3 separate regions of the Homo sapiens genome follow, and all the other regions are linked to region 1. Evidence: promoter capture Hi-C in 16 types of primary human blood cells and fetal thymus (Javierre and others, 2016). All regions are on one chromosome and are shown on one strand. Each heading gives the region's core, a stretch centred on a gene start or on the middle of the fragment in contact. The rest is flanking DNA. Distances are from core to core; before and after follow the strand shown.

Evidence for each region. Contacts are between HindIII fragments. The CHiCAGO score rates a contact against its expected background, and 5 or more counts as called.
Region 2: a contact is called between a fragment that was not itself captured here and the fragment with the promoter of RBM41 in region 1, in 1 of 17 cell types (total B cells). The highest score is 5.7, in total B cells.
Region 3: a contact is called between a fragment that was not itself captured here and the fragment with the promoter of RBM41 in region 1, in 1 of 17 cell types (monocytes). The highest score is 7.6, in monocytes.

Annotation. Positions count from the first base shown.
Region 1 is chrX:107,117,572-107,120,955 of GRCh38, forward strand. It overlaps RBM41 (RNA binding motif protein 41), which reads right to left and starts at 1,251. Exons shown (of 8, transcript NM_001324242.2): 1 at 1,195-1,251. The coding sequence starts at 1,202. RefSeq lists enhancers at 555-634, 1,015-1,204. The HindIII fragment of the contact is 8,519 bases long and covers 289-3,384 here.
Region 2 is chrX:107,646,695-107,650,231 of GRCh38, forward strand. It overlaps PRPS1 (phosphoribosyl pyrophosphate synthetase 1), which reads left to right. Exons shown (of 7, transcript NM_002764.4): 6 at 912-1,071; 7 at 3,246-3,537. The coding sequence ends at 3,338. Among named protein-coding and RNA genes, the nearest start is that of PRPS1, 20 kb to the left of the region's middle. The HindIII fragment of the contact is 8,666 bases long and covers 1-3,537 here.
Region 3 is chrX:107,669,500-107,673,169 of GRCh38, forward strand. No RefSeq gene overlaps it. Among named protein-coding and RNA genes, the nearest start is that of PRPS1, 43 kb to the left of the region's middle. RefSeq lists a silencer at 3,639-3,670. The HindIII fragment of the contact is 4,714 bases long and covers 1-3,670 here.

The DNA.
Region 1 (3,384 bases), core at 1-2,500:
AGATGGAATAAATGATTTGGGAAAGGGAAAGTCAGTATTGTTTTAGCCACATTGAGTCTAGTAGCTTTTACAATAGAAACGCCAGCATGAAGTATCAGGAATACTTCAAATACATGACTAGGAACATTTTGTTTAGGGATAAATTCATATGTACTAGAAACTATTTGCTTTTTTAAAAGCAAGGGAATTAATAACACAAAATTCCGGATAGTGGTCACCTCAGGGGGGAACGAAGGGAGGGAAGAGACACAGTAGACTTCTAAGGGACTGGCAATGTCCTATTTCTTAAGCTTGTAGTGGATGCGAACCTTTATTATTCTTTAAGCTGTATATATACATTATACATTATTTCGCATGGAGGAGATATCATAAAAAAATATTAAAGGTTAGTTTCAGGCAGGCAAAGTCATAAACGGTTTTTTAAAAGATGCAAGGAACTGACAGTGCAGGAAAGCATATCAGTAAGAATTTTAAATGCACTGCACTATTCCAGAGTGATGATTCTACTTGCAGAGTGAATCTAAAATTAATTTAAGCCCGTCAATAGTTAGGAGGCTCAGGCCATTTAGGCTCAAGCGGCCATTTACCTCAGGACAAGTAAGGGGAACTGAGCCCAGCAATGCCTTCCACCTCCCCTCCCCCCACCCCATAAATCGAACCGCTTTGGTGCTGTCCTTCCACATTTAGAAACAAAGTACCGCTCCCTTACTTTAAGATTCGAAAGCGCTACATGGTTTCGGGGCCCAAGCAAGTAGTCTTTAACACACAGACGTTGCAAATAAATGCGCCCGCCCCGAGCCTTTCTCAGGTGGAGGTGGAGGTAGGGGAGAACGGCGAGGGGCTGGCCCGAGGTACCTACATCTCCGGCGCCGGGAATTTGTCAGCCTCAAACCCTTTTGCCCAGCTGGGTCCGGGTGAAACGACGAAGCCGCAGCACCCGGCCAGCTCCCGGGGCCCGTGCCGGGAGGGCATTCCCACAGCAGCCGGCCCCGGTGGCAGCCCTTCCTGAACTTCGCTCTGCAGGCCTGTTCAGCCCGTCTCCCCTCCTCCCGTCTCCTTTGTCGTGTTCCCGCTCCCACGAAACCGCATCCTGAGAACGTGCAATACCCAAACCAGAAAGCAATGGAAGCCATTTTCAAAAGAAAAGGTAGAACAAAGCTCCCCTTGCCGCCTGCTCTTCAGACAAGTCCTTACCTCTTCATGTTTCCACAGGCCCCTACCTCCAACTTGGGTAAATAGGCCGCGGACCTCAAGTCCCAGAACTCCGCGCGGCGGACTTCTAAGGGTATTGTGATGGAGCATGGGGCTCTGGGAATTGTAGTAGCACAGAGCTATGGCAACAGAAAGAGAAAGTAGATCTCAAGTGACAGGTATGCTGAACATTGTCCAAATATTTATTTTGAATTTCTCATTTAGGTTCAAAAGAAGACCCAAAATATCCAGCTCATAAAACGAGTCACCTTTGACTTCTTGATTCTCTCATCCATTACCACTAATTCCTGGCTCTTCTGTAATTTCCTTTGAACTTATCAACACTGCTTTTCTTTCAAGGATTTATCCAGCCTACCTACCGTTTCCAGTCGAGCCTCTGCTTCATCCTTCACGATGTAGCCAGAGTCATCAGACACGAGTCTGACTATATCACCTGTACTAATGGTTCTCCTCTATCTGTAACAGAGACTTGAGAGTTTTCTCCACTCAGAATCAGAAGTCTGTGTATGTTCAGGCCCACATATGTTTTATTGATAATTATGGTGAATCAAGAAAGAGGTATAGTATAGTGGTTAAAAGCATAGGCTCTTAGTTTCCAGAAATGGAAATGCAAATGTCTTTAAGTGTATGAAAAGATGTCCAATCTCACAAATTTTAAAGTACACTGACTACCAGTACTCCTTAAAACTAGCAAGGTCATCAAAAACACAAGAATCTGTCACAGCCAAAAGGAACCAAAGGAGTCATGATGACTAAAGTAATGCAGTATCTTGGATGGGATCCTGGAAAAGAAAAAAAGACATGAGGTAAAAACTAAGGAAATGTGAACAAACTATGCTCTTTAGCTAATAACAAGGTTCGTTAGCTGTGACAAATGTATCAGAGTTATGCAAGGGAAACTGAGTTGTACGTATGTGGAACTTTGTACTATGCAACCTTTCTGTATCTAAAACTGTTCTAGAACTTAAAGTTTATTTTTAAAAGTACATTAAACTACCATTTTTCACCTAACAGATTGGGAAAGATCCAAAAGTTTGATAACACACTTGTTTTATTGAGATTGTGGGGAAACGGGCGCTCTCAATACACTAGTGGTAGGAATATAAATTGGTACAACATCTATTGGGGGCAAATGAGGATACTACTAAAATCATAAATGTACATTCCCTTTAAAGCAGCAATTCAGTTATGAATAGAATCCTCAATACTATATATCCTCTAACCTACTATCATTCCTTGCAACATTGTTTATGAAAACAGAAATGAAAATATCCAAGAACATACTATGAAAATGTATCATTCAATGAAAAACTATGCAGCAGTTACCAAGATGACAAAGTTCTCTATGAACTGCTACTAAACAATCTCCAAAATATAGTTAGTGCAATAGCAAGGTGCAGAACGATATGTATACTATGCTTCTATTTGCATAAAAAGGGGAGCTCTAGTCACTTAAAAACATATATATGTGTGTTTGCTTGTATATGCACAAAATATGTTTGGGAGAACTTACAGACAAATGATGAGTGAATGCCTCCAGGTAGGGGAACTGGATGGCTGAGGGACAAGGGCAGAAAAAATTCTTCACGTATCTTTTTGTGCCCTTTGAATTTTGAACCCATGACTACATTACCTAGTCAATACTTTTTTAATTAAAGAGAAACCCTCTTACATCTCAAGAAGCCAAAGAAGAAAAGATTGTAGGTAATGGTGGGGGGCGGGGCACACTACTTGGATTTGAATCTCACTTCTCAGTTGACAGTATAGCACGACAGGGTTTTAGAGGCAATCTGGACTTGAATTTTTGCTCTGGTAAGTTACTAGACCATGTGGGTTTCAGTAAGTTTCTTAACTGGTCTAGGCCAGTTTTCTCATCTGTAAAATGAGGATACCTCCTAAGTATAGGGTGACTGTCAAGCACATACAAAGGTATGGTTTTAAAGTTATTCCATGATTGAGTGGTAATCTATGAGTAAATAGTCAAATGTTAATCAGTAGATTTAGACTTATCCAAACTGCTTTGTATTTCCATGCTCAAGTTAGAGCAAAGGACCAAAAAGCAGCTACTGAAAAACATTGTAGAATTTCCTGTCCTGAGAACTTCTATCAGATTGAAAATGTCATGGTGAGCTACCTAAGACCTGTCACATGCAAATAACTGTGCTCTTGAAT
Region 2 (3,537 bases), core at 1,038-3,537, 530 kb after region 1:
TTTCAATCTTTGGTGCTATATCTTTAACATGGGGTTTCCAAGATTACCTTGGAAGACATTTCAATTTTGGCCAGCCAGAAAAGGAAAAGAACACAGAGGATCACCCCTGGAAGATTTTTGTTAAGTCCAACCAAAAACTGATGTACATTGTGTCTGCCCACATTTTAATAGCCAGAATTAAGCCACATGGCCACACTGAACTATGTGAGGGAGGCTGGGAAATGTAGTTCAGCTATGTGCCCAGAAAGAAGAGGAAGTGGATTTTGTTAAGTGCAACAGTCTATGCCAGAGTCCTTTGACACTAATTCAGACCTATTCAGATAAGTTCTTAGTGCAGTTCTTTCTCGATATGGACTGAATTGTGTCCTCCCCAAATTCATATATGTTGAGGCCTAACCCCAATGTGATGGTATTTGGAGTTACCTTGAGGGGCACGTATTTAGGATTAGATGAGGTCACTAGGGCAGAGCCCTTACAATGGGATGAATGCCCTTATAAGAAGAGAATGCTGGAGAACTGGCCAGCATTTCCCCATGCGCACGCATGCGTGCACACACACTCACACTCACACACAAAGAGGTCATCTGAGCACACAGCAAAGTGGTGGCCACCTACAAGAGAAGAGGCCTCAGCATGACACCTACTTTGTCTGCACCTTGATCTTGGACTTTAAGCCTCCAGAACTGTGAAAAATTTGTTTCTGTTATTTAAGCCACCCATTCTATGGTATTTTCTTTTCCTTAAAAAAATTTTTCCCCTAACCCACTGTGCCTTATAATATTTTTTATTTTTTTATTTTTTTTCATATGATATTTTGTTGTGGAAGCCTAAGCAGGCTAATATACTCCTCCCTGACTAAAATTCTGCAATGACAAGTAAGATGAATCCAAATCAACATTTTTTCCCTCTAGACTTCTCTCAGCTGGCGCCACCAGAGTTTATGCCATCTTGACTCATGGAATCTTCTCCGGTCCTGCTATTTCTCGCATCAACAACGCATGCTTTGAGGCAGTAGTAGTCACCAATACCATACCTCAGGAGGACAAGATGAAGCATTGCTCCAAAATACAGGTGAGGATGAGATTTGTGCAAAACAAGACTTTTCTAAGTGTTTAGGAGGTGGTTACTTACGTTGAATTAGGTCTCTGGATTCTGAAGATATCTTTCTTTGGTCTGAAGGATTTAGTCTTGTCATCAGAATTTGTGATCCAAAAGTTAACAATCACCTGTTTCTTTTCCTTTTTTTTTTTCTTTTCAAACTGCCAAGCCTTGGGAAAATCACCTGTTTAAAAGTTTAAATTGCTACACCTCAGAATCTCTGGAAGATGGAGCCTAAGATTCTACATTTTAACAGGTTCTCCCAGTGATTCTGATGCAAATTAAAGTTTTCAAGTCCATACTTTACAGTATGTGTTTGTCTGTTAACTATCGGCCCCTGTAGATATAATGTGAAACCTTTAAACTGATTGTACACTTCTACCAACTTTAGTGTTTCTCAGTGTGCTCTGGACCTAAGGTTCTTATTAAAATGTAGATTCCTTTGCTCCATCTAAGACCTATAAAACCAGAGGTCCTGGAACCAGTATTTTAAAGTAATTCCCCAAGTAATTGTTAGAAACTAAAGTTTGAGTGCTCTTGCACTAAAAGAACAAGGCCTTGCTTAATTAAAAATGTTCACATTAATCTATGAGCTTTTTGAAATTAATATGTGTAATTGGAGGATTATCATCTTTTTTTTTTTTTTTTTTGAGATAGGATCTTGCTCTGTTGCCCCAGCCGGAGTGCGCAATCAAAGCTCACTGCAGCCTCAACTTTGAAGGCTCAGGCAATCATCCTGTCTCAGCCTCCCAAGTGGCTGGCGTGCACCACCATGCCCAGCTAATTTTTTTGATATTATGTGTAGAGACGGGGTCTCCCTATGTTGCCCAGGCTGGTCTCAAACTCCTAGCCTCAAGCTATCCTCCTGTGTCAGCCTCCCAAAGTGCTGAGATTACAGGTGATGTCATTCTTAAGGATTTTTTTTCAACTTAGTCTTTTTTTTTTCCTTCATAAGGTTTTTTTGTTTGTTTGTTTTTTGTTTTTGAGATGGAGTTTTGCTCTTGTTGCCTAGGCTGGAGTGCAATGGCACGATCTCAGCTCACCGCAACCTCAGCCTCCCAGGTTCAAGTGAGTCTCCTGCCTCAGCCTCCCAAGTAGCTGGGATTACAGGCATGTGCCACCACGCCTGACTAATTTTTTATTTTTAGTAGAGATGGGGTTTCTCCATGTTGCTCAGGCTGGTCTTGAACTCCTGACCTCAGGTGATCCGTCCACCTCGGCCTCCCAAACTGCTGGGATTACAGGCATGAGCCACCACGCCCAGCCTATTCAGAAGGATTTTTAAATGCGAACCTACCACCATTTTTTTTTAGACAGGGTCTCACTCTGTTGCCTAAGCTGGAGTGCAGTGGCCTGATCTTGACTCACTGCAGCCTCAAACTCCCAGGCTCAAGCGATCCTCCTGCCTTAGCCTCACAAGTAGCTGGGACTACAGGCATACACCACAACCACGCCTGGCTAATTTTTGTTTTATTGTAGAGACAGAGTTTCACCATATTGCCCAGGCTGGACTCAAACTCCTGGGCTCAAGTGATCCTCCCACCTTGGCCTCCCAAAGTGCTGGGATTACAGGTGTGAGCCACAGTGCCCAGCCATTTTGATGAACCAAAGTCAGCGTTTTTTCTCAGTTAGCATTTTGACTCTTTCCTAAGTGGCTGTTTTGTTTTGTTTTGTTGTTTTGAGACAGAGTCTCGCTCTGTCACCCAGGCTGGAGTGCAGTGGCACGATCTTGGCTCACCGCAACCTCCACCTCCCAGGTTCAAGCAATTCTCATGCCTCAGCCTCCCGAGTAGCTGGGATTACAGGCGTGTGCCACACCATGCTTGGTTAATTTTTGTATTTTTAGTAGAGACGGGGTTTCATCATGTTGGCCAGCCTGGTCTCCAACTCCTGGCCTCAAGTGATCTGCCCACCTTGGCCTCCCAAAGTGCAGGGATTAACAGGTGTGAGCCACCGTGCCCAGCCGTAAGTGGCTATCTTAAAAATGTTATGAAGAATAGCTGAGTGCAGCCTCATGACAGGGAAACAGCACAGTGTTGCAGTTTTAAGAGGAAGGGCACTTGCCTGGCTGCTCATCAGTGTCTGCAAATTGGCCAGTCATCTCTGACCATATGATAGTAACCTGATTTCCTTTCTTGCCTTTCTAGGTGATTGACATCTCTATGATCCTTGCAGAAGCCATCAGGAGAACTCACAATGGAGAATCCGTTTCTTACCTATTCAGCCATGTCCCTTTATAATAGAGTAACTTCTGAGGCTTTTTGAGAATAAAATCCACCCCACCCTTGTTTCCCCTTGGTATTTGATGACAAATTCAGCAGAAGACCCGGCTTGCTCCAGTGTAGCTTTCTACATCCCACATCAGGTATATTAGAGCTTATCCGAACTGGGGAAAGACGGATTGAGATTAACTGCTGGGACCTCCTACCTGCATTATCT
Region 3 (3,670 bases), core at 1,016-3,515, 550 kb after region 1:
AGAACTGTCTCTGGGAAGTAGTATTCCCTGACTCCTCTTGGAAGAATTGGTGGCGTGGTGGTGGGAGGTGGCTGCTCCTCCTCCTTCCTCCTTCCTCCTCCCCCATCCCCCTTCCCCCTCCTCCTCCTCCTTTTTTTTTGAGATGGCGTTTCGCTCTTGTCACCCAGGCTGGAGTGCAATGGCGCGATCTCTGCTCACTGCAACCTCCACCTCCCGGGTTCAAGTGATTCTCCTGCCTCAGCCTCCTGAGTAGCTGGGATTAAAGGTGCCAGCCACCACACCCAGCTAATTTTTGTATTTTAGTACAGATGGGATTTCACCATGTTGCCCAGGCTGGTCATGAACTCCTGACCTCAGGTGATCCACCCACCTTGGCCTCCTAAAGTGCTGGGATTACAGGCGTGAGCCACTGCGCCTGGCCAGTGGGAGGCTTTTTCAAACTCAGAGTGCTCAGAGAATTGCATTATTTTGGCCTGGGTGCCTCGAGGACAGCTATCTTATTTTGTTTATCTCTGTATGCCACAGTGCTTGGTTTGTAACAGGTGCCCAATCAACGTTTGGAGAATGGCCCAGTAGACTGAAGTGATGAACTTGACCCTATTAATAGACCCTATTAATATGGTACTTTAACCAACAGGACAAACTAGATATGGCTATCTTTACTGATAAGAAAGAAATACACTGAGCCTGGCTTCTTCTTTCCCACCCTGAAAGATATAAACAATGTATCCCTTCTGAACTTAGCAAGTTCCTGAAGGGAAAGACAGGCTTCTCAAAGCCAGCTGGTGTTGGCAGCCTTCTTGAACCATATTTGGCCTGAGTGGGAGCACAACAGGACCTCCAGGTAATGAGCACACGATCACTACAATGTGTGGAGCTGCAGAGTGAAGAAAACAAACATTGTATTCTTTATATTGTTTACACTAACTTCATAAAAGCATTTCACACAGGTGGAGGGGCAATGACCCAAGAAGACTATCAACAGGGAGAAGGGGGGTAGTGGGGAGGGAAGTCTGCAAATTCATCAGCAATCCTCCCTGAAAAACATGCTGAGGTGGCTCCCACTATCTACCTCATGTTTTTTGTCAAAGAAGCAGCAAGGGAAAGAGGACTTAACAAATAACAGCTGCCATTTATTTAGGCTATTAATTTTTTGAGACAAGGTCTTGCTCTGTCACCCAGGCTAGAGTGCAGTGGCGCGATCTGGGCTCACTGCAGCCTCCGCCTCCTGGGTTCAAGTGATTCTCCTGCCTCAGCCACCCGAGTAGCTGGGATTACAGGTGCGCAGCACCACGCCCGGCTAATTTTTGTATTTTTAGTAGAGACAGGGTTTCACCATGTTGGCCAGGCTGGTCTTGAACTCCTGACCTCAAGTGATCCACCTGCCTCGGCCTCCCAAAGTGCTGGGATTACAGGAATGAGCCACTGTGCCTGTGTCTGGCTATTTAGCCGTTACTATGTACCAGGTACTGCATTGATGGCTTTGTGTATATCAGTTAATTCCTAATAACCACTTGAGATAAATATTATTATTATCCCCATTTTACAGATGGAGACACAGGCATGGCAAGGTCAAGTAGCTTGCCTGGTGTTAGACAAGGCAGCATTCAAACCCTTGCAGTCTGGCTCCAGAGCCCCTGCCCTTAACTGCTGTACCACACTGTCTCCCAGTTTTTTGTTTGTTTGTTTTTTGAGATGGAGTCTTGCTCTGTCATCCAGGCTGGAGTGCAGTGGCATGATCTTGGCTCACTGCAGCCTCTGCCTCCCACGTTCCAGTGATTCTCCTGCCTCAGCCTCCCAGGTAGCTGTGATTATAGGCACACGCCACCACGCCCAGCTAATTTTTGTATATTTAGTAGAGATGGAGTTTCACCATGTTGGCCAGGCTGGTCTCAAACTCCTGACTTCAGGTGATCAGCTCGCCTCGGCCTCCCAAAGTGCTAGGATTACAGGCGTGAGCCACAGCGCCCGGCCCTGTCTCCCACTTTTAAAAGTCCATTGCGGCTGTGGTCCTGGCTCTTGGGGAGCTGACAAGAGGGCAACCAGAGACTGACATGGTCTTCAAGGGGAGGGAATGTGACCATAAGTACACTGGGTAGAAAAATAGAACAGGAAGCCCAGAGAGGCTCACCAGTCACCAGTCACCACTCAGTTGGTGCTGGGACTCATTGGTGACGGGGTCGGGGGGTAGGGTGGGGTGAAAGAAGGTGCTTTTCCAAGAGGTGCTGTTGTGTGCACAGAGACAAAGCAGAGCTGGGGCAGAAAGCTGGGAAGGCAACTTTCTTCTGAGGGGGGCCAGACCACTAGGCTGCCTCGGGAATGGGCAAACGGCCCCAACAGCCACTCCTAGGTATATACCCCAAAGAATTGAAAGCAGAGGCTCGGACAGATACTTGTACACCAATGTGTTTACAGCAGCATTCTTCACAATAGTCCAAAGGTAGAAACAACCCTTAAGTGTCTATCAATGGATGAATGGATAAACAAAATGTGGTATATCCATACAGTAGACAATTACTCAGCCTTAAAAGGAAAGAAACTCTGGCACATGCTACAACATGAAGATTATGCTAACTGAATAAGCCAGACACAAAAGGACAAATATTGCATGATTCTGCTTATATTAGGGACCTAGAATAGTCAAATTCATAAGAGACAGAACATAGAATGGTGATTACTAGGGGCTAGGGGGAGGGGAGAATGGGTATATTCTCTACCCTCACTCTGGGGGCGGGTTTGTGGGGGGGATTATTGTTTAATGGGTATGGAGTTTTGCAACATGAAAAGAGTTCTGGAGGTGGAGAGTGGTAATTGTTGCAGAATAATGTAAATGTACTTATTGTCACTGAATTATGCACTTAAAAATGATTCAAATGGCAAAAATTTTTAGGCTGGGCGCGGTGGCTCACGCCTGTTATCCCAGCACTTTGGGAGGCTGAGGGGGGCGGATCATGAGGTCAGGAGATCAAGACCATCCTGGCTAACACGGTGAAACCCCGTCTCTACTAAAAATACAAAAAAAAAAAAAAAATTAGCTGGGCGTGGTGGCGGGTGCCTGTAGTCCCAGCTAGTTGGGAGGCTGAGGCAGGAGAATGGCATGAACCTGGGAGGGGGAGCTTGCAGTGAGCTGAAGTCGTGCCACTGCACTCCAGCCTGGGCAACAGAGTGAGACTCTGTCTCAAAAAAAAAAAAAAAAAAAAAAAAAGCTAGGCATGGTGGCATGCGCCTGTAGTCCCAGCTGCTTGGGAGGCTGAGGCAGGCAGGAGAATCACTTGAACCCAGGAGGTGGAGGTTGCAGTGAGCCAAGATCGTGCCACTGCACTGCAGCCTGGTGACAGAAAGAGACTCCATCTCAAAAAAAAAAAAAAGAGATTCAAATGGTAAAAAATTTTAAAACACCACGAAAACAAAAACAAAACAGCCCGTGCAGCAGCCTGGTCCACTGAGCTTGCAGCCCAGACATTGGTGGTGGGTTTTGAGGTCTAAAAATAGGGCCTCCTATGGCAAAAATTGGTCACCTGGACAGGAACAGCAGTGAGAGCTTATTGCCTGAAGAGGGGGCAAGAGAGCTCTGGGACGGTGAGTTTCCTCACCTACCCCATCTCCCTTTCCCCCCTCCCTCCGTGTGTGCGTGCGTGCGTGCGTGCGTGTGTGTGTGTGTGTGTGGTGT